2 separate regions of the Homo sapiens genome follow, and region 1 is linked to region 2. The links are contacts of gene promoters, found by promoter capture Hi-C in blood cells and fetal thymus (Javierre and others, 2016). All regions are on one chromosome and are shown on one strand. The core of a region is centred on a gene start or on the middle of the fragment in contact, and the rest is flanking DNA. Distances in the headings are between cores, read along the strand shown. Region 1 overlaps ABCA3 (ATP binding cassette subfamily A member 3). Region 2 holds the start of ATP6V0C (ATPase H+ transporting V0 subunit c).

What was found. The method cuts DNA at HindIII sites, captures the fragments that hold promoters and counts their contacts. A CHiCAGO score of 5 or more calls a contact.
Region 1: a fragment that was not itself captured here is called in contact with the fragment with the promoter of ATP6V0C in region 2 in 1 of 17 cell types (endothelial precursors); the score reaches 5.6 in endothelial precursors.

Annotation. Positions count from the first base shown.
Region 1 is chr16:2,278,547-2,282,975 of GRCh38, reverse strand. It overlaps ABCA3 (ATP binding cassette subfamily A member 3), which reads left to right. Exons shown (of 33, transcript NM_001089.3): 27 at 1,467-1,595; 28 at 1,755-1,949; 29 at 3,846-4,033. Among named protein-coding and RNA genes, the nearest start is that of MIR4717, 6.1 kb to the right of the region's middle. The HindIII fragment of the contact is 444 bases long and covers 1,679-2,122 here.
Region 2 is chr16:2,512,232-2,517,800 of GRCh38, reverse strand. ATP6V0C (ATPase H+ transporting V0 subunit c) reads right to left here and starts at 3,849. Exons shown (of 3, transcript NM_001694.4): 1 at 3,619-3,849. The coding sequence starts at 3,697. RefSeq lists silencers at 3,094-3,233, 3,654-4,133 and an enhancer at 5,039-5,333. The HindIII fragment of the contact is 13,121 bases long and covers 1-5,569 here.

The DNA of each region.
Region 1 (4,429 bases), core at 651-3,150, 230 kb after region 2:
CCCTGCCGAGGAGTCAGCCTGGGGGCCCAGGGCCGTCCTGCTGAGGAGAGGTGGTGCCCAGGGACACCCAGTGCCTGGAGGAGGGGATGTGGGGCTGAGGGGTGCCCAGTCCTGCTGAGCAGAGGTGGTGCCCAGGGACACCCAGTGCCCGGAGGAGGGGATGTGGGGCTGAGGGTTGCCCAGTCCTGCTGAGCAGAGGTGGTGCCCAGGGACACCCAGTGCCCGGAGGAGGGGATGTGGGGCTGAGGGGTGCCCAGTCCTGCTGAGCAGAGGTGGTGCCCAGGGACACCCAGTGCCCGGAGGAGGGGATGTGGGGCTGAGGGGTGCCCAGTCCTGCTGAGCAGAGGTGGTGCCCAGGGACACCCAGTGCCCGGAGGAGGGGATGTGGGGCTGAGGGGTGCTCCACGTGTTTATTGAAAACGTTCATTTTCTCAGGTCTCCATCCCCTCCCTCAAACAAACAAAAGCAAATGTGTTGACATTGCATTGCACATACAGCTTAGCCGAGGGGGAATTCACTTCTTTAAAATAGTCAGACTTCTCTAAAAAGGGAACTGTCTCCACGTGTTAAAATCTTTGGCCAGGCATGGTGGCTCACACCTGTAATCCCAGCACTTTAGAAAGCAGAGGTAGGTGGATCACCTGAAGCCAGGAGTTCAAGACTAGTCTGGGCAACATAGTGAGACCCTATCTCTTCTAAACAGTTTTAAAAATTAGCTAGGCATGATGGCACACACCTGTAATCCTAGCTACTAGGGAAGCTGAGACAGGAGGCTTAAGCCTGGGAGGTCCGGGCTGCAGTGACCTATGATTACACCATTGCATCCCAGCCTGGGTGACAGAGCAAGACCCCATCTCTAAATCTGAAAACAAAAATCTTACTTTCAGGCCAGCCATGGTGGCTAATGCCTGTAATCCCAACACTTTGGGAGGCCAAGGTGGACGGATCACCAAAGGTCAGGAGTTCTAGACCAGCCTGGCCAACACAGTGAAACTCCGTCTCTACTAAAAATACAAAAATTAGCTGGGCGTGGTGGCGCGCTACTCGGGAGGCTGAAGCAGGAGAATCAGTTGAACCTGGGAGGCAGAGTTTGCAGTGAGCTGAGATTGCGCCACTGCACTCCAGCCTGGACAACAGAGTGAGACTCTGTCTCAAAAAAAAAAAAAAAATTGTCTAAAAATCTTATTTTATATTCCCCAGCAGATTTATGATTTTTCTCCATGAGTCCCGCACAGTTCTTTTTCCTCAGATAGTTTATGTCTCCTGGATGCTAGTTTAGCCCCGTAAGACCACTGTGTCTTCTAGTAAAAGGTCTGAGTCGCACCTGTGGGGCCTGAGATTGGGACGAGAAGCCTTGAAGGCCTTAGTCCCACCAGACCTCCCACATCCACCCCCGCCCCTCCCTTCTCCACGGAAGCCGCCCTGCGGCTGGGTTCACGCATGCGGTCTTTGTCCTGGTCAATCAGACAGAATTATACACCCGGATGCCTGTGCTTCCTGAGGACCAAGATGTAGCGGACGAGAGGACCCGCATCCTGGCCCCCAGTCCGGACTCCCTGCTCCACACACCTCTGATTATCAAGGAGCTCTCCAAGGTACCCTTGCAATTTGGGGTGGAGTCCTTCCTGCCAGCTGACTACCTGGCTGTCCCCAGGGTCCGACCCCATCCCTGGAAGCTTTCGGCGCTGAGGCTCAGACTGCTCTGCTTTGCGTCCAGGCCTCCGCATTCCGTGTTTTCTGTTGGGTGCCTGCAGGTGTACGAGCAGCGGGTGCCCCTCCTGGCCGTGGACAGGCTCTCCCTCGCGGTGCAGAAAGGGGAGTGCTTCGGCCTGCTGGGCTTCAATGGAGCCGGGAAGACCACGACTTTCAAAATGCTGACCGGGGAGGAGAGCCTCACTTCTGGGGATGCCTTTGTCGGGGGTCACAGAATCAGCTCTGATGTCGGAAAGGTGGGTGCAGCCAGGGAGGCTCTGAAGGGGTGAGACAGGCATGGCTGGAGGGGGCACCCTGGAGGCAGGGACAGAGGGATGCTGTCCCCAAACAGCTGCTGCATCTGTGGCTTGAAATGGGCCCAGCACATGCCTCTGGACAGCGAGACAAGGTAATGAGCTAAAGCTAAGCTTCGCCAGAACTAGCAGGTGATGGGAGGGGAGAGAGATGGGTGCCAACATCCGTGAGCCCAGAGAGGCGCATTCAGCACTGACAGCCACCTCTGTGCAGAGGCCATTCTGTGTCCAGGCAGCTCAGGTGTGGGGTTAGAGGCCTTGCTGAGTGAAGGGATGGAAGGCCCTGGGCCCGCCCAGCTTTCCCATGTTGAGCTGAGCCCCACCAGCTCCCCCGCAGAAGGACCAGAGGCAGCCCTCCTGCACCTCTGCCCGGGGCCTGCATGGGAATTCAAGTGTGCCAAGCAGAGCAGGGGAAATGGTAAGCAGGGCCTGGGGCTGAGAAGTGGCCGCGGAGTCCTCTCCTGAGCTCACACCAGGGGTGCCTGGACAGCAGAGGCCCTGGGCCAGAGCACATGCAGGCCCTCTCGGGAGGAAAGCCTCATCCTAGGCTGCAGACTCCCCCATAGAGGGTTCCAGGGCTTACAGGCAATGCACAGCAAACAAACAGAGGAGATGGTACCATGGCTGGAAGCAATAGACACAGGCCCCATGGGGGGACAAGCACATAGGCGTTAGATCTGCATCATCAGGCCAGATTATAAAAGATTATAAACTCACTGTGTCTACAGAAATAAATTATGCAATTGAAAATCTATGCAGGGGAGAGAAAACCGTATGTGATCTAGCAATGGAGGAGAGGGTGAGAAGTCCCCAGTACATGTAATCTGAGTTCCAGAAGGAAGAGAGAGAGAGAGTGGCAGGGGGTAGTAGCCAAAAAGGTAGTGGCTAAGACTTTCCCCAAACTGATTAAAAACAGATTCTGGGCTGGGAGCGTGGCTCACGCCTATAATCCCAGCTTTGGAAGGCCAAGGCAGGCAGATCACTTGAGGTCTAGAGTTCGAGACCAGCCTGGCCAACATGGCAAAATGCTGTCTCTACCAAAGAAAAATACAAAAATTAGCAGGGCATGGTGGCAGGTGCCTATAATCCTAGCTACTCGGGAGCCTGAGGCATGAGAATCACTTGAGCCTGGGAGGCAGAGGTTGTAGTGAGCCGAGATCATGCCACTGCGCTCTACCAGTGTAAGGGAGACAGAGTAAGACTCTGTCTCAAAAAAAAAAAAAAAAATTCTGGAAGCTTGAGAACCCCAAAGAAGGAAGGTAAAGAAAAAGAAATCCAGTCTCTGGAATCCACAGAACCCAGGCACTCCTGCCCCCGACCAGCTGCTGAAGGTAGCTAAGCAGATGGCAGCAGGCACGTCTTAATTCAGCTGGACGTGGTCACTTGTGCAGAGAACAGCTGCTGCACCATCTGACCAAGCAGTACTCACCCCAAACGTGGTGCCCACAAATCTTTCTTCTTAGAGGGAGAAGAAAGAGTCCTAGCACATCAGATGTCCCAGGTGTGAATGAGTGGGTAGCCAGCTCTGAGTCTGCTTCTACGTAAAGGCCATTCTTGCACCACCTAACCCCATGGCTGCCTGTCCTGGACCAGGCTCTGAGAGCAGCTCTGGAAGCCTCCCTGCACCAGGCACATCCTTCCTGTGTCCCTGTTCCAAGAGCTTCCACTGTGGGCAGCCACCACGGCCTGTGCATAGCTCCAGCGCCCCCGTGTACACACACTGGCAGGAACCACAGACAGGCGCAGTGGTGGGCACCTCAAGGGTAGTCCCCGTGGTCCTCTGGAGGAAGGAGGCTTCCCTCCAACCCGCCTCCCTCCCCGGCTATGCTCCGACCCCAGGTGCGGCAGCGGATCGGCTACTGCCCGCAGTTTGATGCCTTGCTGGACCACATGACAGGCCGGGAGATGCTGGTCATGTACGCTCGGCTCCGGGGCATCCCTGAGCGCCACATCGGGGCCTGCGTGGAGAACACTCTGCGGGGCCTGCTGCTGGAGCCACATGCCAACAAGCTGGTCAGGACGTACAGGTGCACCTCCCGAGCCCTGGCCCTTCCCAGAGTGGAGTCAGAATCAAGGTCCCCATAGCATAGAGCTGGGAGTGACCGCTCAGGTCAGCAGCCAGAGCTCCTGCTTGTGGCTCCAGGATGGAGCTGGGATGTGGTGGTGTGACCCAGGTAGCTCCACGTAGGAAAGGGACTGCCCTGACAGTGCCTGCCACCTAGGGACAAAGCCAGCAGTGAGAGATGTCAGGGTCGGCAGGTCCCCTTTAGGTGCAGGCAGATGTCTTCCCATGTAGGTGCGTGCACCGGGCCCCTGGGAACAGCCTTCTCTGGGGCCTCCAGCCCTATGCGGTGGGCTTTCCAGGTGCACACACAGCTCCTTCCTCTTCACTAGGGCTGTTCTGCAATTGCTGGGTGTGGGCC
Region 2 (5,569 bases), core at 2,600-5,099:
AGAGAGACTCCGTCTCAAACAAACAACAAGAGTGAATCTCTGACAGACACACACACACACACACACACACACACACACACACACACAAACAGCCTGACCTGCAGAAGACTACATATGTCAGAGGTGGAAGGGACCAGGACTACCCCTACCATTCCTCTTCATATTTTATTGATATATTTGGGCCACAAAACTTGCCTACCCTGTGTCCCAGCACTCAGCAGGGGTGAGGACACAGGCGCGGTGACCTCCAGGCACAGAGACATGCTCCAGGAGAGCGGAGAAGGGGGTGCTGGGGAAGGGCTTCACAGACAAGTATCCCAAGTTGGCGGGAGAGAGGAGTCACAGAAAAACAAGGCAATAAGACAAGGGCTCTGGATAGCACCTGCAGAGGCACCCAAGACGACGGTGCTGGGTATCCAGGGAGTGACTATAGAGGGAGGAAGGAGGCTGGGACCTGGGCCAGGGAGCCACACGGCCTCCTCCACGCCACCTTGGAGGTGCCCAGACATGCCATGCCAACACCCAGTGCACCTGCAGACTGGGGCCCAGGGCCTGTCCCAGCGCCTGTCCTGAACTCCTGGTTACAGTGCATTTTTTCCCTGGCAAGCATATAGAGCAATTACAGTGCATTTTAGGGGGCTCCCACTGCAGGCCCAGGACCACATCCAACTGCATCATGTATGCACAAGAGACCAGAGCATGGCAGACACGTTGGCAGGAGACTGAATACAGGGAACTCAGCAACCCAAGTAGTGGACCCTGTGAGGCCAGTAGTCCACCAGAGGCAGGAAGTGAGCCAGGCCCTTTTCTACAGAGGGCAGCAGGAAGAATCATGTGGCTGGCAGGGGGAGGAGGCACCAAGAGGAGCACAGGGAAGAAAGGGATGGCCACCAGGAGCGGAATACCATGAGCACCCTGGACTCCAGTCCGGAGGCCAAGCCTGACCAGACTGCAGAAGGCAGACCTGTGAGCGGCACTAGGCTCAGCAGCCACAGAAAGAGTGGGGGGCCAGAAAGCAGTTGCAGAAACACAAGCATAAAATACAAGGCACTCGCCAGCAGGGAGGAAGTCACAGGAAATACAGAAAAGGAGCAAATGACAACTTCTTGAAGGACATGATGAAGAAAGAACAGGACATTTGTCATGAGAAAAAAAAGGGGAAGCTGGGACGGGGGCCTGCAAGAGGTTTGTGGACCTCATTCGGTTTAAGACCAATCCGTCAGTGCCAGGCAGGCCAAGGGCCAGGAGCTGGGGACACAGCTGGAGGTTGGCGTTGTGGCAACAGCAGAGGCCACTGGAGGGCAGGGGGCTTGTTTAGGTCGGCACAGCAGGTGAAGCCAGGTCCTGGAGGAAAGCATGCTGAGAAGGCAGAAATGAAGTCAGAAGTTGAGCCAGTCATGGTGGCTCATGCCTATAATCCCAGCCCTTTACGAGGCAGAAGCAGGTGGATCGTTTGAGGCAACAAGGAGTTTGAGACCAGCCTGAGCCACATGGCGAGACCCTGTCTCTAAAAAAAAAAAATTAGCTGGGCATGGTAGCCTGTGCCTGTAGTCCTAGTTATTCAGGAGGCTGAGGCAGGAGGATTGCTTGAGCCTGGGAGGTTGAGGCTGTAGTGAGCCATGACCACACCACTGCACTCCAGCCTGGGAAACAGAGCAAGACCCTGTCTTGAGGAGGGGAGAAAAAAAAAAAAAAAAAAAAAAGCAGTTGTCTGAATTGGCCAAGTGAAGTCAGAGGTCAGCTCCTGGAGAGCCACAGTAAGCCACGTTTATCCCGAAGAGCCAGGGATAAGCAGGAAAGGCCTAGGCCAGCAATACCGTGTTCTCAATTTCCAGACACCTGCTGGTCAGGCTGCCCAAAGACCTGTGTAGGTCTTGACGGAGAGAGAGGAAAGGAGCTGGGTGCAGAAAAAGGGCTTGGTGGACAAACTCAGGGCTTCAAGGGCAAGCAGCAACAGCTAGAATTTAAGTTCCACATGGGCGGGGATCCCATTTTGTTCACTGCTGTCCTACCAGTACCTGGCACATAGTAAGCGCTCAATCAAGATTGTTTGGATGAATGAGTGACAGCCACAAGCTAATACCCCACAGGTGGCCAGGCAAAATGGAATCTCTGAAGGCATTCTGAGGGCAAAGAACAGAGGAGGCTGGGGGGAAGGGCTCGGCAGCCTGTTGGGAGAAGCCTTGAGTCTGTGGAAAGAGCAGGCGGTGCCTAGGGGGAAGGAGAAGTCTAGACCACTTCTTCCACCACAAATGACCCCTTACTTGCACACGACGGGAAGGCCAGGGCTCACTCACGAATGGCAGACAGGCCCAGGCAGAAGGAGGCCCGCAAGAGAACAGAGAGCTCCAAGCCCCCACCCCACAGGTGTTTACAGTCAGCAGAGACTGTTTGGAGTTCAAACCCTCCACATATCTGCACTAGGAGCCTCCCCAGGCCACCAGGCAGGGTGGGGCAGGGCACGGTCATCAAAGCTAAAACCAGACCTAACCACGGAGGCGGAAATCAGACCAGGCCAGGCCAGTCCACGGAGGCTGAGACTGGGCCAGAACTTAACTCGTCGGACCCACATTCCTGGGCCTAGCCCTAGCCCAAGTGCCATTCTCCCAGGGAGACCAATTGTCACTAAATTGGACGCCCAGGACCTGTCAAGGCCCAATTTCAAAAGCAGGGTGCCACCAAGAACCCTAGAAGGCCCCTTCTCCAAGCCCAGGGAAGCCCCTCCCAACTTCAGGCCTCAGGGAGGGAAAGGAAGGTCATTCATTCACCCCTCCATTCATTAGGACCACAACTGGAAGCCTCAGTCCTGAGGGCAACGACTGGATCCCATAAACTCGGACACCCATGCCACCCTCTCACCCACCTCAGAGCACAGACCCTCTGCAAGCTACACAGCCCCGCCAGCGCCGATGCTGCTGTCTCCCCGCTCCCTCCACTTCCACACACTCCCACCCGGGTCTCCGCGGGCTCTCCGAACCAAGCCCTCAGCCCAGCTTTCCCAAACAGCCCACACAGCGACACGGGTATTGGGCAACTGTAACCAGCTCCAACCGGAAGTACCTGCCTGTGGGTGAGACCCACCTGACCCTCGGGGCCGGCCGCCATAAGGGCGAGGGCTGAGGACCTCCCGTGGGGGACATGGGCTCCCCACCAGCCGGAAAGCTCCAGCGACCGGCTGGGCGTTCCTGGGCCGGACCCGCGCCGCCGCCCGCGCACTGGGGCCTTCGAGGTGTGATGTCACCTGCCCGCAGAATCGGCCCCCCTCGCGCCGCCCCCCTCGCGCCCCCACCCCAGCCTCCCTCTCGCCGCTCCCGGGGCTAATATGGCAGCGGCGCCGCCGCCCCACCCCCGCAACCGCACGACCCGGCTGGCAGGGCCGCCGGCCCGGACCCCCGAGACTCACACCCCGGCCAGGCCCGCACGCCCTGCGCCCCGGACCCCCGGCGGCTCCCCGCAGCCCTCGGGGCGCCGACCCCCGCCCGCTGTCACACGAGGCCCGGGCGCCCCCGACAGCTCGGGATTACGTCAGAGTGACGTCACACACCGGACCCCGGCGAGCTGCGGGCATGAGCAACGCGCGCGCCCCCGCCCCCGAGTCCCTCCCGCCGCCGCGCTCACCGCTGAAGACCATGGCGGCCGAGGCGCCCATGACGGCGAAAAACGAAGCATACTCGGGGCCGCTCTTGGACTCGGACATGTCTGCGGGTGGGGAGGGGGCAAGCTCTGCGGGCCGAGGCGGTGGCGGAGGCGGGGGCGAGGACGGGCCGGGCACGAAGGTTTGCGGGCGGGCGGCGGCGAAGGCGATCCGGCCCGTCAGCCGCTGCGCTCTAAATACCAGCACCGCAGAACAAAATGGCGGCCGCGGCCGCGTCACATGACCTGGGCCCCGCCCCTGCGAGCCGTACCACTTCGCACCGTGGGGGAGACGCGTCCCCGGGACGCCCGGCCGGCCCGTTGACCTCCCCCGGGCTGTGCCGCCCGCCCAGCGACCCGGCCCCGGCGCCCGGCCCCGCCCTGCCTCGGCCTCCGCGGGTGTTTCCGGGCGCCGCCGGCCTCTGGATCTCCGCAGCGTTGGACCGGTCTCGCGCCGGGGCGGGGCGGTGTGGTGTGTGCTTCATTAGCATACGGGGCGGGGCCTCGGACGCCCCGCCTCCTCTGCGGCTGCGCGTCGTCTGCAGGTGTTGGGTTCCCGGCGACGCTTTTCTTTGTACCCCTGGCGTGAAGCTGCAGGCCGTGGTTTCGCGGCCTTGCCCCCAAGACGGGGCCTCACCCCTCCGGGCGCTGGTCTTCCAGGATCTCCCTACCAATCCTGGGCGAGCTAAGGGTCCCAGCAGATGTGCGGCGCGCGGGCCTCCTCTGCCACAGCGTCCGGAAAAGCCCCCAGCCCACACCTGTGAAGTCCCAGCCCGTGGCTGCGGTCACCTCCCTCCACCCTGTCCCCAGTCTCCTCCAGACCCAGACCTACTGCCTCTGACCCAGCAGTTGGTGACTTCACCTCTCGCTTCGGAGAAAAAGGACCCCCTCCCCGCACCTGTCTCTGCCTTTGCATCAGGGACCCAAACATTAGTGGGGTGTGTCTCTGCCCCTCAAGATGTAGGCATGACTGGTGGAAGCCCTGTCGGAACTGCGACCTCTGGAGGCCCCCCGGGCTCTGCACGTTCTGGCGTCCTGGTCCTCCCACCTGTCCTTGCAGCCACCCACTCACGCAAAGCCTGCACCTTCAGGGCCATCTTTCTGTCTTTCTGGAGCAGTTGGAGCGGTTCCCGCAGCCGTGAAAGCAGCCCAGCCAGGGCTGGCGCTGCCCTACTGATCCTGTGTGGCAGTCCCTGGCACCCCCTCTGCCTGATCTCCATTCCCCCTTTCAGGGGCCCTGGGCAGCTGCCACCAGGCCTGAGTGTCCTTTGAGCTCTAAGGCCTCATCCTGGGTTAGAGCTCTCCCTGAGTAGCCTGGATGCTGGCTCATCACCTTCTCTATGTAGGCAATGGGGTCATGGCCCCTGGTCTGGCCCTCCTGCTGGACTCAGCCCCACCTTCCCCAGCAGGAGCCTCCCTCAAGCCCCTTCCCCAGGCTAGCCTGGGTCTGCCACTCTTGGAACTTGCAGCCCGTGAAAGTCCCTAAGTCTGTCCTGGTTCAAAGGAGAGGAGGCAACAGATACGGCCAGAGGCCCTTTCTGCTCCTCCCTCTTTCTTGCCCGGCCCTTGTTTCTGAGAAGACGAATCTTCACTCTGTCTCCACCTCCTCACCTGCCCTTCCCTCTCCAGCTCCTTGCCCTTGCCAAGGTCACTGGTGACCGCCATTTCTCTAAGCAGAAGGACATCTGTCAGGCTGTCCAAGTGGACCTCTGTGCTGCGTGGCCTGCCACCCTCTCCACACACTCTCCTCTCTCCTGCGGACTTCCTAAATCTCAGACGCCCTCATTCTTCCTGGAGTCACAAGGCCCTGTAGCCCCAATTTTGCTGCAGGTCCTGGCATACCCAGGGCTACCCCTAGCTCTGCCCTTCCCCTGCTTGATCCCATCCTTTCCCTGGCTTTGTCCCCCATCTTACGCCGTCTTGTCCCTCACCTGCA